2 separate regions of the Homo sapiens genome follow, and region 2 is linked to region 1. Evidence: promoter capture Hi-C in human tissues and cell types (Jung and others, 2019). All regions are on one chromosome and are shown on one strand. The core of a region is centred on a gene start or on the middle of the fragment in contact, and the rest is flanking DNA. Distances in the headings are between cores, read along the strand shown.

Region 1 (5,730 bases), core at 819-3,318:
AACTGTTTGACAGTAATGCAGATTCGTTTATCAGATTAACTGGAAGTCAATCCAGGTTGGCACCCCTGGAGAAGGCCTGGCCACCTGAGCTGCCTTCAACTAAAGGACTGATCTGTAATAGACACTTTAGCCTCATGTGGCCGTGGAGAACCAAAATGATCTATGGAAATGTAGGGAAACTCATTTTAGCTCACAACAAAGGAGTCACTTTTTACCTGTTAGAGATGTCCAATATTAGAATGGGCTACCTCATAAGGTAATGAGCCTTGTCACCCAAATGCTTTAAACAGAAGCCATCATCTGTCACATGCCAGAGGGTGCCCCTCAAGAGTGGGAGAGCAGGGGCTGAACTGCTGAGTTCCCGCTGCGTCCTGTTGCTATGCTGCCTGCACCCTTGGTGGGGAGAAGAGAAGAGGTGGACTGCTGCGGAGGACCTGGCAAACAAGGACCCAGGTCTTGAGGGGATGGGGGCTGATGGGGAAACCGTAGGGTGTGGGAATTTAAGGATTAGTGACATTAGTAACATCACTTCCTCTCAAATTGCGTTTACAGCCTTTACTCGACTGTCCCAAACATGGCCTGTTTTACAAAGCTGCTAAGAAGCACAGCTCCAAATCTGGAGCTGTGAGTGCCCGCCCTGACTCTGACTAGCTTACAGTGAAGCTTTGGGAAGTTGTTTTCCGCTGAGCTCTTATTTTCTCATCCAGAAAATGAGGGGGTAGGATTTGGTGAGTTATAAAGTGCCTTCTAGCTCTAGCAGTCTGTGACTGGCCCTGCTCTTTCTGAGCAGATCAGTGAGGCAATGACCCCAAAGCGGGGCTGCCCAGAATCACCACAGGCTTCCTTTGGCTCTCCACCTTGCCCCAACCCCTCTGGCCACTGCTGCCTGGGGGTCTTTCTCCAGCTTGCCACATTCTTGCTCAAGTGTAGTTTAGCACCATGGATGGACAGCAGATTTGAATTTGAAATCAGCCCTAACATTAACTAGCTGGGTGACTTTTAGTAACTTTCTTTCTTTGAGCCTTAGTTGCCTCATCTATAAAACCAGAGTTGGACAAATAGATCAGCTTTGCTGGGGTTGATAACTTCAGGCCCTTTCAGGAGTCAGGTCCCTGTTATTCCAGGGCTAGGGGAGCACTCCAGCTCAGAACGTTACTCTGTAGCACAGGATGCGAATCATCCACTGATACCGTGGCCATGCAACTCTGAAACAGACAGCAACCCCCAAACCCCCGGCCCTGCCACCAAGCACATCTCAGGAGACCTCCACTGGTATAATTTCCCTTGTCCCTAAGAATCTCCTTCCCCAATCCCTTTCCTTTGCAGTTAGAAAAAGGCAAGCAGGACTGAGTTTAGTGGTTTTAAAATTAGGGGTGTGGCCAGGCACAGTGTCTCATGCCTGTAATTCTAGCACTTTGGGAGGCCTAAGCAGGCGGATCACTTGAGCTTAGCAGTTCAAGACCACCATGGGCAACATGGCAAAATCCTGTCTCTACAAAAAAATACAAAAGTTAGCTGGTCATAGTGGTGTGCCTGTGGTCCCAGCTACTCAGGAGGCTAAGGGGGAGGATGGCTTGAGTCTGGGAGGCTGGGAGGTGGAGGTTGCAGTGAGCCGAGATAACACCACCACACTCCAGCCTAGGTGACAGAGCCAGACCCTCTCAAAATAATAGTAATAAATAATAATAAAGTTAGGGGTGATCAGGCCCTGAACAGGGAAATGTTCTGTCCAAGGTCACAGAGCAAAGAGAACCCAGGTGTCCACAACTCAGCCAAGAGTCTTGACCCCTGTGTCGTCAGCTGCACACACGCTGCACACTCCACCAGCTCCTAGGCTTCTCTCCACATCTGACTTATCGAGGCCTGGGCTGTGGGTAGCTTTTTGGACAGAAAGAAGCAGAAAGCAGCAGGAGCTGCTCTCCGAGGACCGCACCTCAAAGAGCAAGATCCCCCAGGTGGGATCGCTCTGAGGCTTCAGGCAGGGGAGGCTGGTTTGAAAGCCGATCTCCAAGAGGGCGTGGCTCCAAAATGCTGGCAAATAAAAGCCTGGAGAGCCAGCACCAAGCTGGAGACCAGCAGGAGGCACAGGAAAACTGCAAGCCGCTCTGTTCCTGGGCCTCGGAAGTGGTGAGCTCGCTGAGGCAGGAGGAGCTCTGGGGAGGGTCTGGGAATGTGGACGAGGGCCCTGCAGGCCAAGATGGGGCAGATGGAGGGAGGAAGATGTTTGCGCTCCAGATGGCGAAGAAAATTCCAGGGAAGGGAGAATCACTGCACAGAGGGCTGACACACAGGTCCTTTCCAGAGACAGCTGCTCACACTCACACCCATACACACACACACACACACACAAAGGCAGATACAGGGAAAAGGCAGCACCATTCAGGCACACCTCACCTGTCAGACCAGCCAGCCCTGGCTCACTCACCTGGAATGCAGTATTTAAAGAACTCGCCATCCCACCTGCACACCCACGTAGAGACATCTCCCCACTGTGTTTCAGATGCCTATGGCGTCCCCTCAAACCCTGGTCCTCTATCTGCTGGTCCTGGCAGTCACTGAAGCCTGGGGCCAGGAGGCAGTCATCCCAGGCTGCCACTTGCACCGTGAGTACCTCTGGGACCGGAGGGCTAGGAGCAGTGGAGGTTCTGGGTGGGAGCAAAGAGCTGAGTGGACGGTGGGGCAGGCAGCACCCTAAAGGGCCCCACACTGAGGCACAGGCAACGGGAGCTGGGGCGAGGCAAACCTTGGCAGAGGCGCCGTCTACTGCTTGCCTATCTCCTTCTAGCCTTCAATGTGACAGTGCGAAGTGACCGCCAAGGCACCTGCCAGGGCTCCCACGTGGCACAGGCCTGTGTGGGCCACTGTGAGTCCAGCGCCTTCCCTTCTCGGTACTCTGTGCTGGTGGCCAGTGGTTACCGACACAACATCACCTCCGTCTCTCAGTGCTGCACCATCAGTGGCCTGAAGAAGGTGAGGAGGGCCCGGGCCCGGTGGATGGACGCTGGGGTCGCGGGAAGACCAGAGAGATGGAGATCCTAGACAGCCCTGAGAAAGGGGACTGCAGCACGGACTCCCCTCTCCCGCAGGTCAAAGTACAGCTGCAGTGTGTGGGGAGCCGGAGGGAGGAGCTCGAGATCTTCACGGCCAGGGCCTGCCAGTGTGACATGTGTCGCCTCTCTCGCTACTAGCCCATCCTCTCCCCTCCTTCCTCCCCTGGGTCACAGGGCTTGACGTTCTGGTGGGGGAAACCTGTGTTCAAGATTCAAAAACTGGAAGGAGCTCCAGCCCTGATGGTTACTTGCTATGGAATTTTTTTAAATAAGGGGAGGGTTGTTCCAGCTTTGATCCTTTGTAAGATTTTGTGACTGTCACCTGAGAAGAGGGGAGTTTCTGCTTCTTCCCTGCCTCTGCCTGGCCCTTCTAAACCAATCTTTCATCATTTTACTTCCCTCTTTGCCCTTACCCCTAAATAAAGCAAGCAGTTCTTGAATTTCTCTCTTTATTAAGTCTACCCCCAGCCACGGAAAGAGGAGTAGACCATGATTACTGTGAACCCCCCCTTACCCCAGGACACTGTGAATCTCTTCTTGCCTGTGCCCTCCCCCTCCCCCTGCCCAATAAATAAAAAGGGGACAAGGAAGTACACAGCGAGGGAAGGGAGGAGTGTGCACCCAGGACAGTGTCTGTGTAGAGGGTGAGCTGGGCGAGAATAAATAGACCATGGACCCCATGGTGGGGATAAGGAAGGACCTCGCATTGGCCAAGGCAGGGGCAGGCGAGGCGCTGAGTGCCCTTGCCCAAGGCCAGGAGCAGAGGGTGGGAGCCCGCCTGCAGCTGGAGCCTAGCTTTGCGGGGCAGGGGAAGATCCCTGATGGCAGCTTCCTGGTCAAGCTTGCCCTTGTCAAGTCCTGCCACGAGGGGCTGAGCATTCTGTTGCCAAGACCACCATTGCCTCTCCTCGTCTCCCCCCAGTGAAAGCTGGGCTGGGCAGGGAGTCCTCAGAAGCCACTCTGGCAAGGCCAGGGGTAGGTGTGTTTCTCTCTGGGCCCCTGGACAGGAGAAGGGATAGAGGGACTGACAGCTCTGGGTTTAGCTTTTCCCCTTCTGAGGTGCTGTCTAGCTCTGACCCCCACTGGCGGCCACCTGGGGTGTAAGCCGCTGGAGGGGGGCCTCCTTGGCCCCCTGGGTCCCCTGTAGCCGGCGTAGCCGCAGCTCCTCCAGACCTTGCCATAACTCCTGACGCTCCTGGGCCTTCTGCTGCTCCCTGGGGAGAGAGGGTGAGGCAGCTCCCTTTCCTGGGGCCCCCCACAGTCCAGACTCCCTCACAGTCCAGACTCCCTCACTACCACCCCACCGGCAAAGGGAAGGCATGGAACCATTTTTGTTCTGTGACTCCATAAAAACCCTCTACTGAGGGAAGAGAGCAGAGGACAGACAGATCCCAGCCTGCAGTCACAGAGAAGATGACGGGTGGGGCCTGAGTGGTTCTGGCTTCTGTAGGAAGCTACAGGGAGTCAGAACAAGTCTGAGCTACTCGAAGAATGACGGGAGGATACAGGGGCAGACAGTCAGGCATAGGATGGCAGGAGCATGGACAGTCTTGCAGCATCTGATCAGACAGAGTTTGGGGTAGTCCTCGGGTTCCCTCCAGCCATGGGGGTCTGACTCCTCCCTGCTCTTCTCCCTTCCCCCACGCCCAGCCCCCAACACTCACTGCTGCTTTTCCAGCTTGTAGGAGGCTGTGAGCTCATCAAACAGCTTCCCATTCATCTCCATGAAGGTCTTGAGCACATTGTAGATCAGTGATACGATGGTTCTTGGCAGTGTCAAGGAGGGATGAGGAGATGAAACAGCTTTGGTTTGCCCACCTCTCCCTTTCCCTGCCCTTCACATACAGCATTCCACCTGAACACAAGCACTGCCCACTTTCCTGTCCTTTTCACCACCCCTGGGCCATCTTTTGATGCTTTCTCTGATATTCTCCAGCTAGGAGTAACCCTGGGGTCGGGTCTGGACTGGCTGGCCCTGGTCCCAGTTTCTGTGAGTTAGGTCATGGCCTGGCACTCACTGGTTCCAGTGCTCCTTGGAGACTTGGTAGAGGGTCCCAAACACAGCAGGCAGCACAGTGTGGCAGTTGTCCTCAATGAGGCTTAGGATATACTCATTGTTCCAGAAATACAGAGCCCGCTCTGCAACCTGGGGCAGACAAGATGGCAGAGTGATTAACTGGCAGTGGCTTCTCTCTGTGTGCAAGGTCTGGTGTCCATCACTACCTCAACGCCCAGGCCCCCTGACCTTCACACACCCCACCTTCAGGGCTTATCTGAGCCCTGGAGGAAGCAACAGTGTTGAAGGGAAAAGAGTTCTAGATACGGAATCCAATGCTGCGGGGTGAATCCTAACCACTACAGACTCTACTATGCCATGTGACCTTGGGAGAGGCATTTAACCTCCCAGCCTCAGTTTTCTCATCTGTAAAATGGGCTAATAATACCTATCTCAACAGGATGTTATAAGAATCAAATGAGATACTAGACTTTTAGGTGTTTAATGAACCGAAGTGCCAGAATCACTGTGAGGAAGACTTGACTTCCACTGGGTTATGGCCCATAAGAACGGGAGGAAGTCTGCACATGCTTGCAGCAGAACATGAGTTAGTTAGCTGGGTTGGTGCGGGGAAGCCTGGCTGCATCCCAAAGCGAGTCTAATGAAATCTAAGGCCACTAGCAA
Region 2 (5,528 bases), core at 1,907-4,406, 400 kb before region 1:
CAAGCGATTCTTCTGCCTCAGCCTCCTGAGTAGCTGGGACTACAGGTGCACGCCACCATGCCCAGCTAATTTTTGTATTTTTACTAGAGACGGGTTTCACCACCTTGGCCAGGCTGGTCTCAAACTCCTGACCTTGTGATCCGCCCGCCTCAGCCTCCCAAAGTGCTGGGATTACAGGCATGAGCCACCGTGCCCGGCTTCTTTTTTTTTTTTTTTTTTTTTGAGATGGAGTCTTGCTGTTGCCAGGCTGGAGTGCAGTGGTGCGATCTTGGCTCACTGCAACCTCTGCCTCCTGGATTCAAGTGATTCCCTTCCCTCAGCGTCCTGAGTAGCTGGGATTACAGACACACGCCACCATGCCCAGCTAATTTTTGTATTTTTGGTAGAGTGGGGTTTCGCCATGTTGGCCAGGATGGTCTCAATCTCCTGACCTTGTGATCTGCCCGCCTCGGACTCCCAAAGTGCTGGGATTACAGGCATGAGCCACCGCGCCCAACAGCCTCTTTCTTTTTTTTAAGAAAGAGTCTTAAAAGTGTCACTCAGGCTGGAGGGCAGTGGTGTGATATCAGCTCACTTCAACCTCTGCCGCCTGGGTTCAGGCGATTCTTGTGCCTCAGCCTCTCAAGTAGCTGGGACTACAGGTGTGCGCCACCACACCTAACTAATTTTTATAGTTTTAGTAGAGATGAGGTTTCACCATGTTGGCCAGGCTGGTCTCAAACTCCTGACCTCAAGCAATCTGCCTGCCTCAACCTCCCAAAGTGTTGGGATTATAGGCGTAAGCCACTGCACCCAGCCAAGACTTTCATTTCTGACATCACATTCGGAAGGGATAGAAATTTACAAATAAGAAAATTCTTTTCCCAGGACAAGATGCAAGTCATACAAGATGAGGGGCCGGGCGTGGTGGCTCACGCCTATAATCCCAGCACTTTGGGAGGCCGAGGCGGGTGAACTCCTGAGGTCAGGAGTTCAAGACCAGCCTGGCCAACATGGTGAAACCCCATCTCTACTAAAAACACAAAAATTAGCCAGGTGTGGTGGTGGGCACCTGTAATCTCAGCTACCCGGGAGGCTGAAGCAGGAGAATTGCTGGAACCCGGGAGGCGGAGGTTGCAGTGAGCCAAGATCGTGCCACTGCATTCCAGCCCGGGCCGACAACAGTGAGACTCTGTCTAAAAAAATAAAAAAAAAGAAAAGATGAGCTAGTGGTCCTGACCTCAATGTACTCAATGTATAACATCAGCTGTCAGAAGACTAGGCACACTATAATCAAGAGAAGTGCCATATCTCCAAATGAACTGGAAGAATAGAAGCCCCTTCTTAAAGGGATAATTCTGTGGGAGTACGTATTAATTGTGATCTGAGGCCCTGTGCAGCTAGAAATGAGGAGGAGAGAGTTGGTTTCTCATTACTGGCATTCAGGAATTAGTGGCTGGTGATGCTCACAATCTCTACAGTTTTTCAAAGAGAAACAAGATGTCACGCTCTGTTTAAATGGGCAACCCCTCACTTATGACACAACTTGAAAGCACTGGCAACCCTATTTCTCTGAGGAAAATCTTCCAACACGAAGAACCTCACTACGTTTAACTCCCAAAACCTAGGCAAGTCTGATACTCCCCCAGTACAATGAGAATCTTCCTTTTTATTTTTGGAGAAACCTGTGTAAAACATCCCCTTACAATGGGATGAGGGAAGTCAACAAAGACGCAGGGAAACAAAGAAAGAACATCTGAGTCAGGAAGGATAACTGGATAAATGGTAGATCAACAGTGTCATTTCTAAATTGAGAAAAATGTCAGCCTGAAGAAAGAGCTGGGGAAACTGGAGTGGGCAGATCAGAGAGAAAGACAATAGCGTTGGGAGGAGGGGTGGCTGAAAGAGACAGCAGGATAGAGCAGAAAGCAACTTAAAAAAAAAAAAAACAAACCACAAGAGGAGGAAAGGCACTTAGCTTAATGGAAGTGGGAAAGCATTCTCAAAGAAAAGGCTTCAGGCAGGAGGGAGAAGCAACTTACTCTTTAAAAAGGCTCTTAGGAAGAGTGGGGCTCAGGCCACGACAAAGACAGATGAGAAGCTGTGAGTCCCTTAGAAGAGTTACCGAACCTTTACCTCGTCATCCAGTCAAAATGCAAAAACCCTGACTGGACAGCTAGACACCACTCAATTTTCCCACCCTTGCACCAAGCCCAACATACCCATTAAAAGAAGCTCTATTCGCCCACCATGCATTAACCCAATCTAAAACTCATTCTGATTCTTCTGTAGGAATAAATCAAGTCCCAAAGCATCTTTAACTCACAGGAAGCAGTTCATAGGCCAGCGTCCATGGCCCCAACAGCTATTAACTTTAACTTTGCTTGAAATCTGACCAGCACAATGGTATCGTATAATAGGAAGAATGCCCACCTAGATGCCCCTTTAGGCTAAGCTGTCCTGAACGGCTTCGGTCCAGTTGCAGGTTTTTGATGGCTGCTACTGGACGGGGCCAAGGCCCACTCCCCTGAAGTTCCTTCCCTTCTGGATCCGCTCCTCGATAAATTCTTCCCAAGAATATTTGTAGTCTTAGGTACCTGCCACCCAAGATCCTCCCAAACATCACGGGGCTGCCTGGAACTGAAACAGCCAGCCCCGCAGTGCACTCCGCAGGGGCCGCCGAGCCTGTTGCTGCAGCGAACGGGACGGGACGGGGCGGGGTGGGCGGCGGGCCAGCCGTAGGGCCGCCCGGGCCTCGGCCCCGCTCCTCCGGACTGAGGCGTCTCGGGAGAGGACCGGGACGGTGAGTCTCGCGTGCAGGCAGGGCGCCATGCTCTGGAAACCGTCAGCCCCGAGGAACGCTGAGGCCACACAGCCCCGCAGGGATGCCGCCCGTCGGGGCTCCAGTGTGCCCCCACCAGGGCCTCCACAAGTTTCCAAAGAAGCGCAACGTCTTCTCCGGAGTCTCCTGTTGCCCTCCCCACCAGGAGTCGCAACATGGCTTTCCCGGGGATGTCCCTCTCTCCGCCTAGTCCCTTCCCCCACCGCCCCCTACTCCCAGGCCCTTTACAAAACCTGCCGCCCTAGGAGAGAAAGAAACGACCACTCACAGCTTCACTACATTCTCCACCACAGCCGCCATCTTCCCTGTTCCTCTGCCTCGGGCCGAGAAGCCCCACAGTCCGCAGCGCGCAGGCGCCGGGACCGCACCGGGGTACCAGGTTCCTTGCCCTCTGCGCAGGCGCCGTCCGGGCGCGCGCACTAGAGCGAGCACTGAAGAAAGAGCTTTACGCCTGTTCGCGGGGGCCGGGTAGGAAATGCGTGGACCCCACGGGAGCCCGACGCGCAGGCGCAACCGGAGATTGGCATGCATCCCGGAGCTCCGGTTCGAGGCTTGCCTCTAATATTTAGAGGAGCAGGAGCCGGGGCCGGGCGCGGTGGCTCACGCCTGTAATCCCAGCACTTTGGGAGGCCGAGGCGGGCGGATCACGAGGTCAGGACATGGAGACCATCCTGGCTAACACGGTGAAACCCCGTCTCTACTAAAAATACAAAAAATTAGCCGGGTGTGGTGGCGAGCGCCTGTAGTCCCAGCTACTCGGGAGGCTGAGGCAGGAGAATGGCGTGAACCCGGGAGGCGGAGTTTGCAGTGAGCCGAGATCGCGCCACTGCACTCCAGCCTGGGCGACAGAGCGAGACTCCTTCTCAATAAATAAATAAATAAATAAAGGAAAAAAAGAAAAAGAAAAAAGATTAGCTGGGCATGGTGGTGCATGCCTGTAATCCCAGCTACTAGGGAGGCTGAGGTGGGAGGATCACTTGAGCCCAGGAGTTTGAGGCTCCAGTGAGCCACTGGAGCCACATCACTGCACTCCAGCCTGGGCAACAGAGCGAGGCTCCATCTCAAGAAAAAAAAAAAAAAAAAGGAAAAAAAATATATATACATATATATATACACATATATATATACACATATATACATATATATATATACACATATATATACATATGTATATATATACATATGTATATATATATATATATATATAAATATAATCACTAAAGCTGAAAATACACATACCCTATGACCCAGCAAAGTCCACTCCTGGATATACACACAAGAAAGCTGTACAAGAAGCTGAGTGCAATGCCTCATGCCTGTAATCCCAGCTACTTGAGAGGGTGAGGTGGGAGAATCACTTGAGCCCAGGGGTTCAAGACCAGCCTGGGCAACATAGCAAGATCCTGTCTCTTAAAAAAAAAAAACAAAAAAAAACAGGCCAGGAGCATTGGTTCACGCTTGTAATACCAGCACTTTGGGAGGCCACGGTGGGCGGATCACGAGGTCAGGAGATCGAGACCGTCCTGGCTAACATGGTGAAACCCCATCTCTACTAAAAATACAAAAACAAAATTAGCCGGGCATGGTGGCGGACGCCTGTAATCCCAGCTACTGGAGAGGCTGAGGTGGGAGAATGGCGTGAACCTGGGAGGCGGAGTTTGCAGTGAGCCAAGATCGCGCCACTGCACTCCAGCCTGGGTGACAGAGCGAGACTCCGTCTCAAAAAAAAAAAAATAAAGCTGTACAAGAATGTTCGTAACAACATTATTTGTTTATATTTATTTATTTATTTATTTTGAGACGGAGTTTTGCTCTTGTCGCTCCTTAACAAATTCTTCCTTCCAGCCCAGGCTAGAGTGCAGTGGCACTATCTCAGCTCACTGCAACCTCCACCTCCTGGGTTCAAGTGATTCTCCTGCCTCAGCTTTCCGAGTAGCTGGGATTACAGGTGCCCCCAGCTAATTTTTGTATTTTTTGTAGAGACAGAGTTTTACCACGTTGGCCAGGTTGGTCTCGAACTCCTGACCTCATGTGTTCCGCCCGCCTAGGCTTTCAAGTGCTGGGATTACAGGCATGAGCTACCACGCCTGGCCAGCTGATGTAACCTTTTCTTAAACAATCCTAAAAGAACTGAAAGCTATTGATGCTGGGTTCATAAGCTGCCTTTCCAATTATATGCAGCTAGCCTATTTATTATTAGTACTATTTTTAAATTCAAACTTTTAATTGAAATATACATAAAGAGAAGCACATAGATCTTATGTAGCTTGACTAATTTTTTTTTTTTTTTTTTTGAGACGGAGTTTCCCTCTTGTTGCCCAGGCTGGAGTGCAATGGCGTGATCTCGGCTCACTGCAACCTCCGCCTTCCGGGTTCATAGCTTGACTAATTTTTTTCAATTTTTTAATTTTTGTGGGTACATCGTAGGTGTATATATTTATGGGTACACGAGATGGTTTGATGCAGGTATACCATGCAAAATAATTGTAGCTTGATTGATCTTTACAAAATAGACAAACCTGTGTAACCACTACCCAGATGAAGAAAAAGACATCACTAGCACCTCAGTAGCCATCTCATGCTTCTAGCCCTAAAGATTAGTGTGTCTGTGTAACTGTATGTCAATGGAATCATACAATATGTCCTATTTTGAATTTGGCTTCTTTTGTTCAATATTAATTTTTTCCTTTTTTTTTTCAGCCCCCAC

The links. The method cuts DNA at HindIII sites, captures the fragments that hold promoters and counts their contacts. A contact is called where the count stands out against the background at its distance.
Region 2: a contact is called between the fragment with the promoter of DPF2 here and the fragment with the promoter of GPHA2 in region 1, in 1 of the 25 tissues and cell types used here (heart left ventricle).

What each region holds. Positions count from the first base shown.
Region 1 is chr11:64,932,231-64,937,960 of GRCh38, reverse strand. It overlaps GPHA2 (glycoprotein hormone subunit alpha 2), which reads left to right and starts at 2,068. Exons shown (of 4, transcript NM_130769.4): 1 at 2,068-2,127; 2 at 2,501-2,603; 3 at 2,786-2,970; 4 at 3,087-3,490. The coding sequence starts at 2,501. The coding sequence ends at 3,188. It overlaps PPP2R5B (protein phosphatase 2 regulatory subunit B'beta), which reads right to left. Exons shown (of 14, transcript NM_006244.4): 12 at 5,069-5,196; 13 at 4,715-4,816; 14 at 3,486-4,264. The coding sequence ends at 4,117. The HindIII fragment of the contact is 7,271 bases long and covers 1-4,880 here.
Region 2 is chr11:65,331,480-65,337,007 of GRCh38, reverse strand. DPF2 (double PHD fingers 2) reads right to left here and starts at 3,156. Exons shown (of 11, transcript NM_006268.5): 1 at 3,090-3,156. The coding sequence starts at 3,121. RefSeq lists enhancers at 1-66, 2,855-2,904 and a silencer at 2,715-2,804. The HindIII fragment of the contact is 14,713 bases long and covers 1-5,528 here.